Linked DNA regions of Homo sapiens: all the other regions are linked to region 3. Evidence: promoter capture Hi-C in 16 types of primary human blood cells and fetal thymus (Javierre and others, 2016). All regions are on one chromosome and are shown on one strand. The core of a region is centred on a gene start or on the middle of the fragment in contact, and the rest is flanking DNA. Distances in the headings are between cores, read along the strand shown. Region 1 has its middle 21 kb from the start of CTSK. Region 2 overlaps ARNT (aryl hydrocarbon receptor nuclear translocator). Region 3 holds the start of ECM1 (extracellular matrix protein 1).

Region 1 (3,871 bases), core at 1,015-3,514, 280 kb before region 3:
AGGGAAGCTGGTGAAAAAAAGTATACTTCCAACACCTTTTAGCTTAGCTATTCTCAACTTTCCCATATTACTATAGAGAAGACAGATGTTGTTCACATTTTCGACACATTTCCACGGACACGCTCACAAAATAATATCAGTCGTTGGTAGCTACCCATAATTCTCCCCTTCTCTCTCCCAGAAAGCATACTGGAATGCACATCTATCAACATAATATTATTATAGGGATAATCTGCTGAATTGGCTCTAATTGTTAAACATGTCACTTTCAAACTGTTGGTACTTTTTTATTAGTAATACATTTCTTGTGACTTACTTTGTAATTAATTGTAACACATCAAATGTGTCACACCAATTGTTATTCATTTGTTAGGGGAGGGGTCTTATCACTGGCTTCTAGAGTACTCCCTAATTATGTCTTATTTTGTTCTCTTGGTAAAATTAAGCTCCTTCTTTGAGTACACATTGCTAGGTGACAAGGAGTACTTGTAGGATAATGGGGGATGTCTACTAGGATCAAATAATGCACCAAGCAGATAAGCTACACAGAATATCAGAAAGAATATATATTTTCAATTCAGAACATTCCTATTTTCCCTAATGACTCAAGAATTCTGTTTTCTTTCTTCAGAAAGTTATTGCATAATATTAACATAAAGTTAATTGAGGGGAAACTCAACATTATGGTAAAATCGTCTTTTCTAGTCCCATATTCTCCTATAGTCCATGAAGGGTATTCCTCACCTCACCTTTGTGCATTTCTTGGACAGTGAGGTCAGTAAGAAGTAAACTATTTTATTATGAAAATAATGTATGTTATTAAATTCCTAGCACACTTGGGTAAATTAACAGAGACTAGAACTAGCATTGGAATGAATCATCCTAAAATTCAAAATCCTTTTCTTTAAGACTAAATAAGGGTAGGGCGCAGTGGCTCACGCCTGTAATCCCAGCACTTTGGGAGGCTGAGGCAGGTAGATCGCCTGAGGTCAGGAGTTCAAGACCAGCCTGGCCAATATAGCAAAACCCTGTCTCTATTACAAAAAAAAACAAAAAACAAAAATTAGCCAGGCGTGATGGCGCGCCTGTAATCCCAGCTACTCAGGAGGCTGAGGCAGGAGAATTGCTTGAACGTGGAGGTGGAGGTTGCAGTGAGCCGAGATTGCACCACTGCACTCCAGCCTGGGCGACAGAGCAAGACTGTCTCTCTCTCTCTCTCTCTCACACACACACACACACACAGACTAAATAAGACAGAGAAACTTAAAGCAGCTGATTTTCAGGGGGCATGAAGCTAAGAGATGGTTACTTCAAAAGCTTGAAAAGGTACAACTGTAACAAGCAGGGACAAAGCTTCCTTATTTTGCTTTCATTTCTCCTTTTCCACGTTATTCAGGAGATGTTGCCTCGTTTGTGATGAAAGGGAGTCTGCATTCCCGATAAGACTTAGTGTTGTGCAGCATTCTGGATAAGACTTAGTTGTTGTGCAACTGTTGTGCAAAACATTTGCCTTGTTTTTTTGTTTTCAATCGCTATTGAAATAAATTTGCAAAAAGTGTGCCCCATTTCAGGGCAATTTACAGCTTTGCAAAAATCCAGTTTACAGCTTTGGAATGTCACAGGATGATGTGTAAGTTTATAAAATACCTTAAGTGATACAAGGATAGATTATCTAATGACATGTTCCCCTAATGTATTCAAACACTGTATGTGTTTACAGACTTTTGCATACCAGGAGGAGATTCAAAGAGAAACCTAAGGCTTAAAGCCTCAGAAGCCACTGCCAAGTCATGATGAACCAGAAATGAAGACAAACCATGTAGAATATTATAATTAGGAAAAGTTAATTCAATGAATGTTTATTGATTATTATCTAAATATGTGTTAAGCCACAGTGCAATACAAAGATGAGTAGGACAAGATCCTGTATTTTCAAGTTAGCTAGTGAGATAAAACTATCTTACGTGCTACAAATACAGAATCAGAATTTCGTGGTACAATTTGTATCGTGCAAGTGTAGCTAGAGGGAAGAAGAGTTGGGGTAGTTAGAGAAGGCTCTGAGGAGGCAGTACTTGAAGTGGATCTTGCAGAACAAAGAGGCCAAGGAATGGAGAGAGCCATTCTAGAAAGGAGGCAAGAATGATTGGGCAACTGGGGAGGTCCATGGGACCAGCATGGCTACATCAGAGGCTGAGTTTTCAAAATCTGGGGTTTTGTTTGTTTGTTTTTGTTGTTGTTGTTGTTGTTTGAGACTAGTCTTGTTCTGTCACCCAGGCTGTAGTGCAATGGTGCGATCTCAGCTCACTGCAATCTCCGCCTGCTGGATTCAAGTGATTCTCGTGCCTCAGCCTCCCAAGTAGCTGGGACTACAGATGAGGCACTAATTTTTATATTTTTAGTAGAAACGTGGTTTCACCATGTTGGCCAGACTGGTCTCAAACTCCTGGCCTCAAGTGATCCACCAGCCTCGGCCTCCCAAAGTGCTGGGATTACAGGCATGAGCCATCAGATTGCCTGAGCTCAGGAGTTCAACACCAGCCTGGGCAACACGGTGAAACCCCATCTCCACTAAACTACAAAAAATTGGCATGGAGGCGTGTGCCTGTAATCCCAGCTACTCGGGAGGCTGAGGCAGAGAATTGCTTGAACCAGGGAGGCAGAGTTTGCAGTGAGCCGAGATCGCGCCACTGCACTCCAGCCTGGGCAACAGAGCGAGACCCCCTCTTTAAAACAAAAACAAAAACAAATTGAGTAAAATGCTCAGGAAAGGGATCCAGAGCATGGGGAAAGAGCCTTGGAAGGCAGGGGCGCAGGACTTCATGCAGCAGGCAACAGAAAACATTTCTAGAAAACAGCATGATAAAAATGTGTTTTAGGAGCACAGTTTGGCAGTGATGTGCAGGATGAGATTCCACAACAGACTGGAATGAAGGTGCTGAAATAATTTAAATCATCAGAAAATATTTATTTAGTGTCTGCTGACCATCGCATCATATACTGTGGAGGACACGAAGAAGAGTAGGAGCTACAGGGCCCCTGTACTTTATGGGCTAACAGGTAGTTACATAAGGCAAAAATACAAATAATTATCATATTAAACAGAAAATTAAGAGGATGGTTTTTCTGCGCTCAGTCTATGTGTCTGCCACAAGGAGCCTCAAAGCCTCAAAGCTTGGTAGAAGCTCAAAAAGTGACATCCAGTTGGGGATAAAGAAAGGCTTTTTTTTTTTTTTGAGACGGAGTTTCACTCTTGTTGCCCAGGCTGGAGTGCAATGTGCGATCTCGGCTCACTGCAACCTCCGACTCCCGGGTTCAAGCAATTCTCCCACCTCAGCCTCCTGAGTAGGTGGGACTACAGGCATGCGCCACCACACCCGGCTAATTTTGTATTTTTAGTAGAGACAGGGTTTCGCCGTGTTGGTCAGGCTGGTCTTGAACTCCTGACCTCAGGTGATCCACCCGCCTCGGCCTCCCAAAGTGCTCGGATTACAGGCGTGAGCCACTGCACCTGGCCGAGAAAGGCTTTTTGTAAGAGCTATTTTCAGAGATGGGCCATTAAGGAGGAGCAGAATTTCAAGCAGCAGAAATGAGAAAAGGAAATTCCAGAAAGAGAGAGGCAACACGATAATTTTGGGAAAGCACTACTTTAAAAACAAGGTTGGTTCACTTCTAGGTCAATGGACAGTTTTGTCCTCTTGAACAAGTTAGCCTCTCAGAAGTTTAACTTCTCCTCTGTAAAATGAGGATAATAATATCTACCTCATAGAGTTGTGAAGATTAAATAATAATGCACAAAGAGTCTAGCACACTCATTGGCATATAATTGGCATCCAATTAATGTTAGCTAGGACTATTAGGATCATTAAGCAAG
Region 2 (4,506 bases), core at 169-2,668, 320 kb before region 3:
TCTTTACTTGTCTGAGTTTTGAAGGCATTTGAGTTGGAGGTCCCCGTTAAACCTTTTAACGTCACGTTTCTGAAGGTGTTTCCCTCCCAGATGATGACCCAGAGGCTGGCCAGGGAAGCAAGTTTTGCCTAGTGGCCATTGGCAGATTGCAGGCAAGTATGAATTTTCCACATCTATATTCCCGTTCAATTAGAGCAGATCTTCAGGACTCATTCCTGTTAATTTTCTTTTACTTTCTGAATACAAATGAAGAATTCCATAAAACTCTCAAAATTTGAAGGAATATGGCATTTATAGTGACCATTGCTATTCTTGGATTTAAGTAAAGTTGAAAAGTATGAGAGGAGGGAGATCTTTTTCCCCTTGTCTTAATTTTAGCTTTACTATGCTTAATTTTCTATTTCCAGTTAATTTCCTTTGCCCCTATACAAAAGAAGAAAGATCCTTTTCATTGTATCATTACCTGACTAACAATAGAAAAGTGGAATTATTTTGATTTTTTCATAAGTATAGATAAGTTTCTTGGTTACTTGTACCATATCAACCTGAGTAATGAGTTCAGCATAGCCAGTATGTGGATTTTAGATTGAATAAACTTTATTCTTACTTTACTAACTTGGTAAAGTGTAAATGTATGGGAGCAGAGCTAGACCTTATGCCTTGTCTGATTGTGATTGTCATTTTTTTTTCCTTTTTGGATAAAATGTGAAAGTTTAGAAAGTCCTAAAACTGGGAATCTTATGTCTATGCAAAAGACCATGAGGAGATAGGAAATACATCTGTAAATAATGGTATCATTTTACCTCATTTTTATCTCTTCACTCTCAGGTAACTAGTTCTCCCAACTGTACAGACATGAGTAATGTTTGTCAACCAACAGAGTTCATCTCCCGACACAACATTGAGGGTATCTTCACTTTTGTGGATCACCGCTGTGTGGCTACTGTTGGCTACCAGCCACAGGTGAGGAGCTGGAGCTCCATTAGGCCTCCATTTTCCTTTGGCTATGTTGACATTATGTAATCATGTAGTTCCTAAGACAGCCAAAACATATCAACCTCAGTTAAGAAAAAGAGATCATCATATTCTGTTAGTACCTAACATTATTTTCAGCTTCCTATTAGGACTGTCATCTCATGTAGAGAAATATGGCTTGTCAAACCAGGTGGGAGCAGCAGGTACAAATATGTATTTATTTTTTGTTGTTGATATTAATACAGATGATTCAAAGGTACTCATATTAATTAGTTATACCAGTATAGCTACATTTAGATAATTCATGTAATTACCTAAATGAATAATGGCCCATAAAACATGCAGATTTAGCACCAGTTATTATAATTTACTCATGCAACAGACCAGTTAGCCATCTCTGAATTGACGCATCATATAAACTTTTAAAACTGTTGTGGGTCGGAAGGACTTCTGGCTGTGGCTATGTGAAAGAGGTTGGTGAAAAAGAGGTCTTGAAAACAAAGAACAAAGAGAATTTACACTACCTGATTCAACACTAACTATAAAGCTATTACCAAGACACTGTGGTGTTGGTGTAAGGATAGATATATAGATCAATAGACCAGAATAAGGTCTATTCTTATACTTGTCAACTAATTTTCAGCAAAGGTGACAAGACAATTCAATGGATAAAATAAATATTTCTAACAAATGGAACAATTGGATATCTGTATGCAAAAAAAAAAAAAAACAAAAAAAAAACCACACCCAAAAATGAAAACACATAGATCTTACCTCATACAATTTACAAAAATCAGCTTAGAGGCCTAAATGTGTAAGAGCTAAAGTTACAAATAAACTCCTAGGAGAAAATCTTTGTGATTTTGAGTTAGGCAAAAGATTTCTTACACTAAAAGCATGATTCACAGAAGAAAAAAAATTATAAATTGGATTTAATTGTAATTAAAATTTGCCCTCTTTAAAGGATATTATTAAGAAAATGAAAAGACCAGACATAAATGGAGAGAAAATAGTTACAAGTCATATACCTGAAAGAGGATTTGTACCAGGAATATATAAACAACTCATTAAGACAAACAGCTGGTAAAAAAGAGCATAAGACTTGACATTTGACTGAAGAATAAATATGCATTTATGCACATGAAAAGATGCTCAACATCTTTTTACCATTAGGAAAGTGCAAATTAAAATCACAATGAGATACCACTATATACCCACTAGAATGGCTGTAATCAAAAAGTATTGGTGAAAATGTGTAGAAGCTGGAAGGAACCCTCATACATTGCTGATAGACATGTAAAATGGTATAGCTACTAGCTTTGCAAAAGCATTTTGGCAGTTTCCTACAAAGTTAAACATACTCTTAGCCTATAACCTAGCAATTTTATTCCTGAGTATCTACCTAAGAGAAATGAAAACATGTTCACCCATAGATTTGTACACAGTTCATATCTGTATTATTCATAATAGCCAAAAAAATGAAAACTATTTAAACGTCCATTAACATTTTGTAAATGAATACACAACTGTGTTGTATCCATGTGAGAATACTACTGAGCATAAAAAGGAATAAACTACTGATAATGCAGCCATGTAGATGAACTTCAAAAATACCATGCTCAATGAAAGAAGCCAGACCCAAAAGACCACATATTATGTTGTTTTATTTATATGAAATTTGTAGAAATAGCAGAACTAGAGAGGCAGAAAGCAGATTTGTGGTTGGCTGGGGAGTTGGAGTGGGAGCAGAGATTGACTGCAGATGGCACAAGGGAACATCTTGGGGCAGTGAATGTGTTCTGAAACTGGATTGTGGTAATCATTGCACAACTATAAATTTAGTAGACATCATCAAATCATACACTTAGAATGGCTGAATTATGAATGTAAATTTTATCTAAAATTTATAATCTCATTAAAATAAATGTATAATATTCTGAGAAAGAAAAATGTTTTAGAAGCCAGCTCCTTAACAGATTCTGCCTTTTTTTAGTAGATTTCATCTTTTGTTTATTGTCTTTTTTTTTTCTCCTCCTCACTTAACTATAATCTTAGGATTAAAACAGAAGAAATAAAATCCAGGTCCCCAGCTGATGGACCAGGCCAGTTAGATGACCATAAAATTATATATGTTGGCTGGGCACGGTGGCTCACACCTGTAATCCCAGCGCTTTGGGAGGCCGAGGCGGGTGGATCACTTGAGGTCAGGAGTTCGAGACCAGCCTGACCAACATGGTGAAACCCTGTCTCTATTTAAAAAAATACAAAATTAGCCAGGTGTGGTAGCACACCCCTGTAATCCCAGCTACTTGGGAGGTTGAGACAGGAAAATTGCTTGAACTCAGGAGGTGGAGGTTGCAGTGAGCCAAGATCGCGCCATCGTACTCCAGCCTGGGCAACAAGAGCGAAACTCCATCTTAAAAAAAAAAAAGTATATATCTTACTCTTCTTTCTGTATTCTAGGAACTCTTAGGAAAGAATATTGTAGAATTCTGTCATCCTGAAGACCAGCAGCTTCTAAGAGACAGCTTCCAACAGGTAACTTTTTTCCTGGTTTGGTTCTGAATAAATATTTGTCATATTCACTCCATAAATATTGACTACTGATTAACTGAACACTGTGGCAGGCACTACAGTTTTATGTTCTTTAGTAGTTAATCTGCATTTTTAAGGAATAGAAAAGGACTAATACTTTGAAATTATGGATAATGCCCAAGGTATTTCTGTTTGGCTTTGGCTATTTACTGTCTTGTATTCAATTAACTGTATCCAAGGAGCTGTCTTTAAGGTATTTAAACTATTGCGCCAGGCATGGTGGCTCATGCGCCCAACCTCTGTAGATGCTGTGAAAATAGATGTTTTCCTCGTCTGGGCATGGTGGCTCACGCCTATAATCCCAGCACTCTGGGAGGCTGAGGCAGGTGGATCACTTGAGGCCAGGAGTTCAAGCCCAGCCTGGCCAACACAGTGAAACCCCATGTCTACTAAAAATACAAAAAATTAGCCTGGTATGGTGGTGCATGCCTGTAATCCCAGGTACTCGGGAGGCTGAGGCACGAGAATCACTTGAACCTGGGAGGCAGAGGTTGCTGTGAACTGAGATCATGCCACTGTACTCTAGCCTGGATGACAGAGCTAGACTCTGTCTCAAAAAAAAAAAGATAAAAAAGAAAATTGTATACTTCACTAAGCTTGTAGTAGAAAAATTCATTTTATATAGTTTTTTTTTTTTTTTAGAAGGAGTCTAGCTCTGTCGCCAGGGTGGAGTGTAGTGTGCAATCTCAGCTCATTGTAACCTCTGCCTCTTAGGTTCAAGCGATTCTCCTGTTTCAGCCCCCCGAGTAGCTGGGATTATAGGCACATGCTGCCACGCCCAGCTAATTTTTGTATTTTTAGTAGAGGCGGGGTTTCACCACGTTGGCCAGGATGGTCTCGATCTCCTGACCTCGTGATCCACCCACCTCAGCCTCCCAAGGTGCTAGGATTACAGGCATGAGCCATTGCGCCCAGCCTAGACTGTTCTTTTATGGA
Region 3 (3,990 bases), core at 9-2,508:
AACACACCTAGACATGACCAGCTGGGTTCTGAGAAAGCCTGTGGCGGTCTGATAGCTCCACCTCTACTGGCTCAGAGGTTGGGCCTAAAGGGAGTATGGCATACGGGATTGGGGAGGGAGGCCCTCATTTCCTCTGCCAGTCTTTCCCTCAGGGCTGTGGGTTGTCCTCCCCAGTCTCTGCTGGGATGCGTCTCTAGCTTTCAGAGGAAAAAGTCTGGACCTTGAGCTGGTTGGAGCCTACCCAATCCACCTCCTCCACCCACCCTCCTACTCCAGGCCCTTGAAACATCTTTAGGCCTTTGGTTAAGGAGGCTTCCTGAAGGTTGAGTGCTTCCCCTTCAGCCAGTCTCAGCTCCGCCTTAGTTTAGGTCTCAATTTAGGGCCTGGGGGACTGGGACAGGCACAGGGAAGGGTCACTTGTAGGTGATCTGCAGACACAAAAGACCAGGAGCTGGGAAGAATGATGGCATGGGGCTTCACAGAGAAGTGGACAGATTTGCTGACATCCTCAGCAGCTTCCTGCAGGAGTGCCCTGGGTGGTTTTTTTCCTTTTCTTTTCCTTTTTTTCTTAGTTTCCACCCATAGCATTGAGGGGTTCCTGTTTTGTTCAGGCATCAAAGCAGATAAAGAATGTGTTTGTGCTGGATGGAGGGTGGGTCTGTGGATGGACACCCCTCAACTCCTCTAATCAGACAGGGAGTCAGTCGAGGCTTGCTGGGCCAGCAATCCGGTTTTGAGCAGCCTGGGGGCCCCTTTTCCCTCCCTTGCCTCTCCCACCAGCCACCTCCCTACATCCTCATCAGCAGGAGACCCTCACTCTGTGAACCCACCCCCCACTCAGTTGTCTATTTGACTGGGATTCTGTGTTTCTTGGCAGCAGTTTCTAGGAACCCCTCTCCTTCTGTGCCCCTGCTCTCTGCCTCCTTGGTTAAAGGCTCCACTGGCCTAGGCCCACTTTGGGCCTGCTCAGAAAAGGAAAGCCAAACGGAGAATCACTCTGCTAGTGATGAGCCGTCTGGGATGCCTGGACCCAGACCCCTGCCATGCAAGCCCAGACCCCCTCCTAAGTGCTGATCCCCCAACTCACCTCCCTCAGAGGCAGCAGAAGCAACAGCCAAATAGGTCAAGACCAAGGCTGCTCTGGCTGTGGTCCCCATCCTGGGGCAACTGACCACTGGACACTCAGAGGTGGGTCCTCTCAGGCAAGTCTGGATGTGAAGGGCCGGCCACTGAAGCTTGTCTGGTGGCTGTTACGGTTGTGAGCTTCAGGACCAGCTCTTCTTTTATAATTGTCTGGTGTGATCTCCCGCCCTCCTCAGCTTCCTGCCATGACTCAGTCCCAGCTGCTCCTCCTCTGGAAGCCACTCCTCCCAAAGTCACCCTGAAGCCTCCTCAGAGGATTGAGAAGAATGGGACTGATTAGAGGAGAACATTCTTATGACCTTCAAGAGAAACTGATTCAGAGAATCCAGGAGCAAGAGGTGTTTGAGCCCCTAGTTTGTGCCTCAGTTTCTCCATCTACAGGCTGCCTTCTGTGGAGAGGGGATCTGCCAACTCATGAACTGGGGTTGGGGAAACAGGGCACAAAGGAGTTTACAGCGGGGAGCAGGAAACCTATCCAAGGGATCTCCCCTACCAGTGTGAGGTCTGGACTGTCCCTTTTCAATTTCCCTAACTCTCTGGGACAAAAAAGAGGGAGACAAAGTGGAACATCCTTTTATCCCACCTCTCCAGAGTCAGAGATGAAGACATATGACCAGCAGCTTCCAGTTTGTATTTATTTATTTATTTATTTATTTAGAGACAGAGTCTCGCTCTGTCGCCTAGGGGGGTGCAGTGGCGCAATCTCAGCTCACTGCAACCTCTACCTCCCGGGTTCAAGCGATTCTCCTGCCTCAGCCTCCTGAGTAGCTGGGATTACAGGCGTGTGCCACCATGCCCGGCTAATTTTTTGTATTTTTAGTAGAGACAGGGTTTCACCGTGTTAGCCAGGGTGGTCTTGATCTCCTGACCTCATGATCCGTCCGCCTCAGCCTCCCAGAGTGCTGGGATTACAGGCATGAGCCACTGCGCCTGGCCCAATTTATTTTTTTTTGTAGTTTCATTCTCCTCACATCCAAACAGCTACAGCTTCCCTCCTTTTGTGGGGTCCCCAAACCAAGTCTCTTTTCAGGAGAGCAGACATGTGCCTCCACACAGTTCTGAAGTTCTGGGGGCTCCACATTGTCAGCTGGGTTGGGGTCTCCCATGTGAGGGAGGCTGATGGCACTCGCAGGTTTTTGCCTCATCTATGTACAAAGGCTCAGAAAATTTCTTCGGCATTTGGGACCCTCGTGTTCTGTAGCTCCACCAGTCGCTGCACAGCCTCAGGCAAGTCCCACTCCCCAAGGCGACGATTATCTCGAGTCCGAATGTTCACTGTTCTCTTACTTTGCTCTTTCTGGCCAACCACTGCAGGTAGAGGAAGTTTGGGAACCTCAGGGCAAATTCACCCACATGGAACAGTTTCTTTTGCTCTGCAGAAACTTGAGAGACCTAAATCTTTAGGAAGGGTGGGAGCAGAGCCCAGATATGGTTCACAGAAAGGAAGTATTCAGCTGTGTCTGCTAATACTAAATGACCAGTCCTGCTCATCCTGAGGAGACAAGGAAGTGCTTCAGTCCCCGCAGGCCTTATCGCTTCTGGTCAAGAGCCCCAGGGTCAGAGACATAAGAGTCAAGCAGAGAAAGACAAACACTGAGAACCCCACAGAGAGAAACTGTGTGTGTGTGTGTGTGTGTGTGTGTGTGTGTCAGAGACATTAGAGTCAAGCAGAGAAAGACAAACAATGAGAACCCCACAGAGAGAAACTGTGTGTGTGTGTGTGTGTGTGTGTGTGTGCGCGCGCGTGTCTGAAGGGGGTATTAGAGCAAGTGGAAGGTGGCAGGAGTGGTGTGGCCTTCACACTGCCCCGCCTCCCCCCAACCACTCTGACCCTTAGAACAGTTTCCTCTCATCAGTCCCACTCTGGCTCTTGGTGTCTGTTAGGGCTGGATTCACAGAGTGAGGGGCCTCTGCTGAGGAGGATGTATGCAGGGGCTGACTGGGCGGTAAGGGAGGGAAAGGGGCCATGTACAAGTCCCTGGGATTGCAGCACAGCTTGCTCTGGGTGCTTGTAGGGAGAGTGGGGTGTGCAAAACTCAAGAATCAGGTAATCTGGCTGAGGAGTTTCTGCTCCTCACCTTTGAGATAGAGCCCTGAACCCTGGAAAATGAAAAAGGGAGCATGGCAGTGCCAGAATTTTCTCCCTAAGGCCTTTCTCCTCATCCCTTAGGGCTGATTCCATCTAGGTCTAAAATAAACAAGGGTAATTAACGCTGTATTAACCCTCCCGTCCCTTTCTCTCTGATGCTCCCTTGGTTAATTAACCTAACAGACACCAACAGCTAGAGTGGAGTTAAAAAGAGGAAAACTATTTTGAGTGTCAGAAGTGGTTATGGGGAGGGCAGGGCAATGTGAAGGAACACAGGGCCCAAATGAGTCAGGTGTCCTGAATCCTGGCTCCTACCTGCTCAGGTAATGAGCCCCAATTAACCCAAATATGCATTACCAGACTTGGTAAACTTAACAGCAAGAATGCAGACGGCAGGTGGGAGAACATTGGCTCTGAGGTTCAGCTTACCAAACTGAAAATTGTAGTGGGCAAGCTGGGCCCGGCGGATTCTCCGGCTGAGGGTCAGTCCAGAGTCTGCATCCAGGTCACTGACCAGTCCTGCAGCCCGCAGGCTCTGCTGTGCCTGCAACAGAGGTTTGGTGACAGGAAGTTAATTTACTGGAAAGTTAAGGAGCTAGAACAGTCTGATGCTCTTTTCCCTCAATGCCCCCATCTGTTCCTCCTTTCCCTGCCTCGGGGCTCTCCACTTCTTACCAGCAACCTCTCCTCATTTCATCTCCACATTGAGGCCTCCTCCCCATTCATCCCCAACCCCACAATCTTTCTGCCTCCTACTG

Evidence for each region. The method cuts DNA at HindIII sites, captures the fragments that hold promoters and counts their contacts. A CHiCAGO score of 5 or more calls a contact.
Region 1: a contact is called between a fragment that was not itself captured here and the fragment with the promoter of ECM1 in region 3, in 1 of 17 cell types (neutrophils). The highest score is 6.5, in neutrophils.
Region 2: a contact is called between a fragment that was not itself captured here and the fragment with the promoter of ECM1 in region 3, in 1 of 17 cell types (neutrophils). The highest score is 6.5, in neutrophils.

The regions. Positions count from the first base shown.
Region 1 is chr1:150,785,535-150,789,405 of GRCh38, reverse strand. No RefSeq gene overlaps it. Among named protein-coding and RNA genes, the nearest start is that of CTSK, 21 kb to the left of the region's middle. The HindIII fragment of the contact is 1,818 bases long and covers 1,356-3,173 here.
Region 2 is chr1:150,825,550-150,830,055 of GRCh38, reverse strand. ARNT (aryl hydrocarbon receptor nuclear translocator) reads left to right here. Exons shown (of 22, transcript NM_001668.4): 11 at 76-152; 12 at 829-963; 13 at 3,439-3,513. Among named protein-coding and RNA genes, the nearest start is that of CTSK, 20 kb to the right of the region's middle. RefSeq lists cis regulatory regions at 1,877, 2,442 and enhancers at 1,805-1,949, 2,370-2,514. The HindIII fragment of the contact is 5,500 bases long and covers 1-4,168 here.
Region 3 is chr1:150,505,377-150,509,366 of GRCh38, reverse strand. ECM1 (extracellular matrix protein 1) reads right to left here and starts at 1,258. Exons shown (of 10, transcript NM_004425.4): 1 at 1,088-1,258. The coding sequence starts at 1,157. It overlaps TARS2 (threonyl-tRNA synthetase 2, mitochondrial), which reads right to left. Exons shown (of 18, transcript NM_025150.5): 17 at 3,662-3,776; 18 at 1,765-2,451. The coding sequence ends at 2,303. The HindIII fragment of the contact is 8,833 bases long and covers 1,238-3,990 here.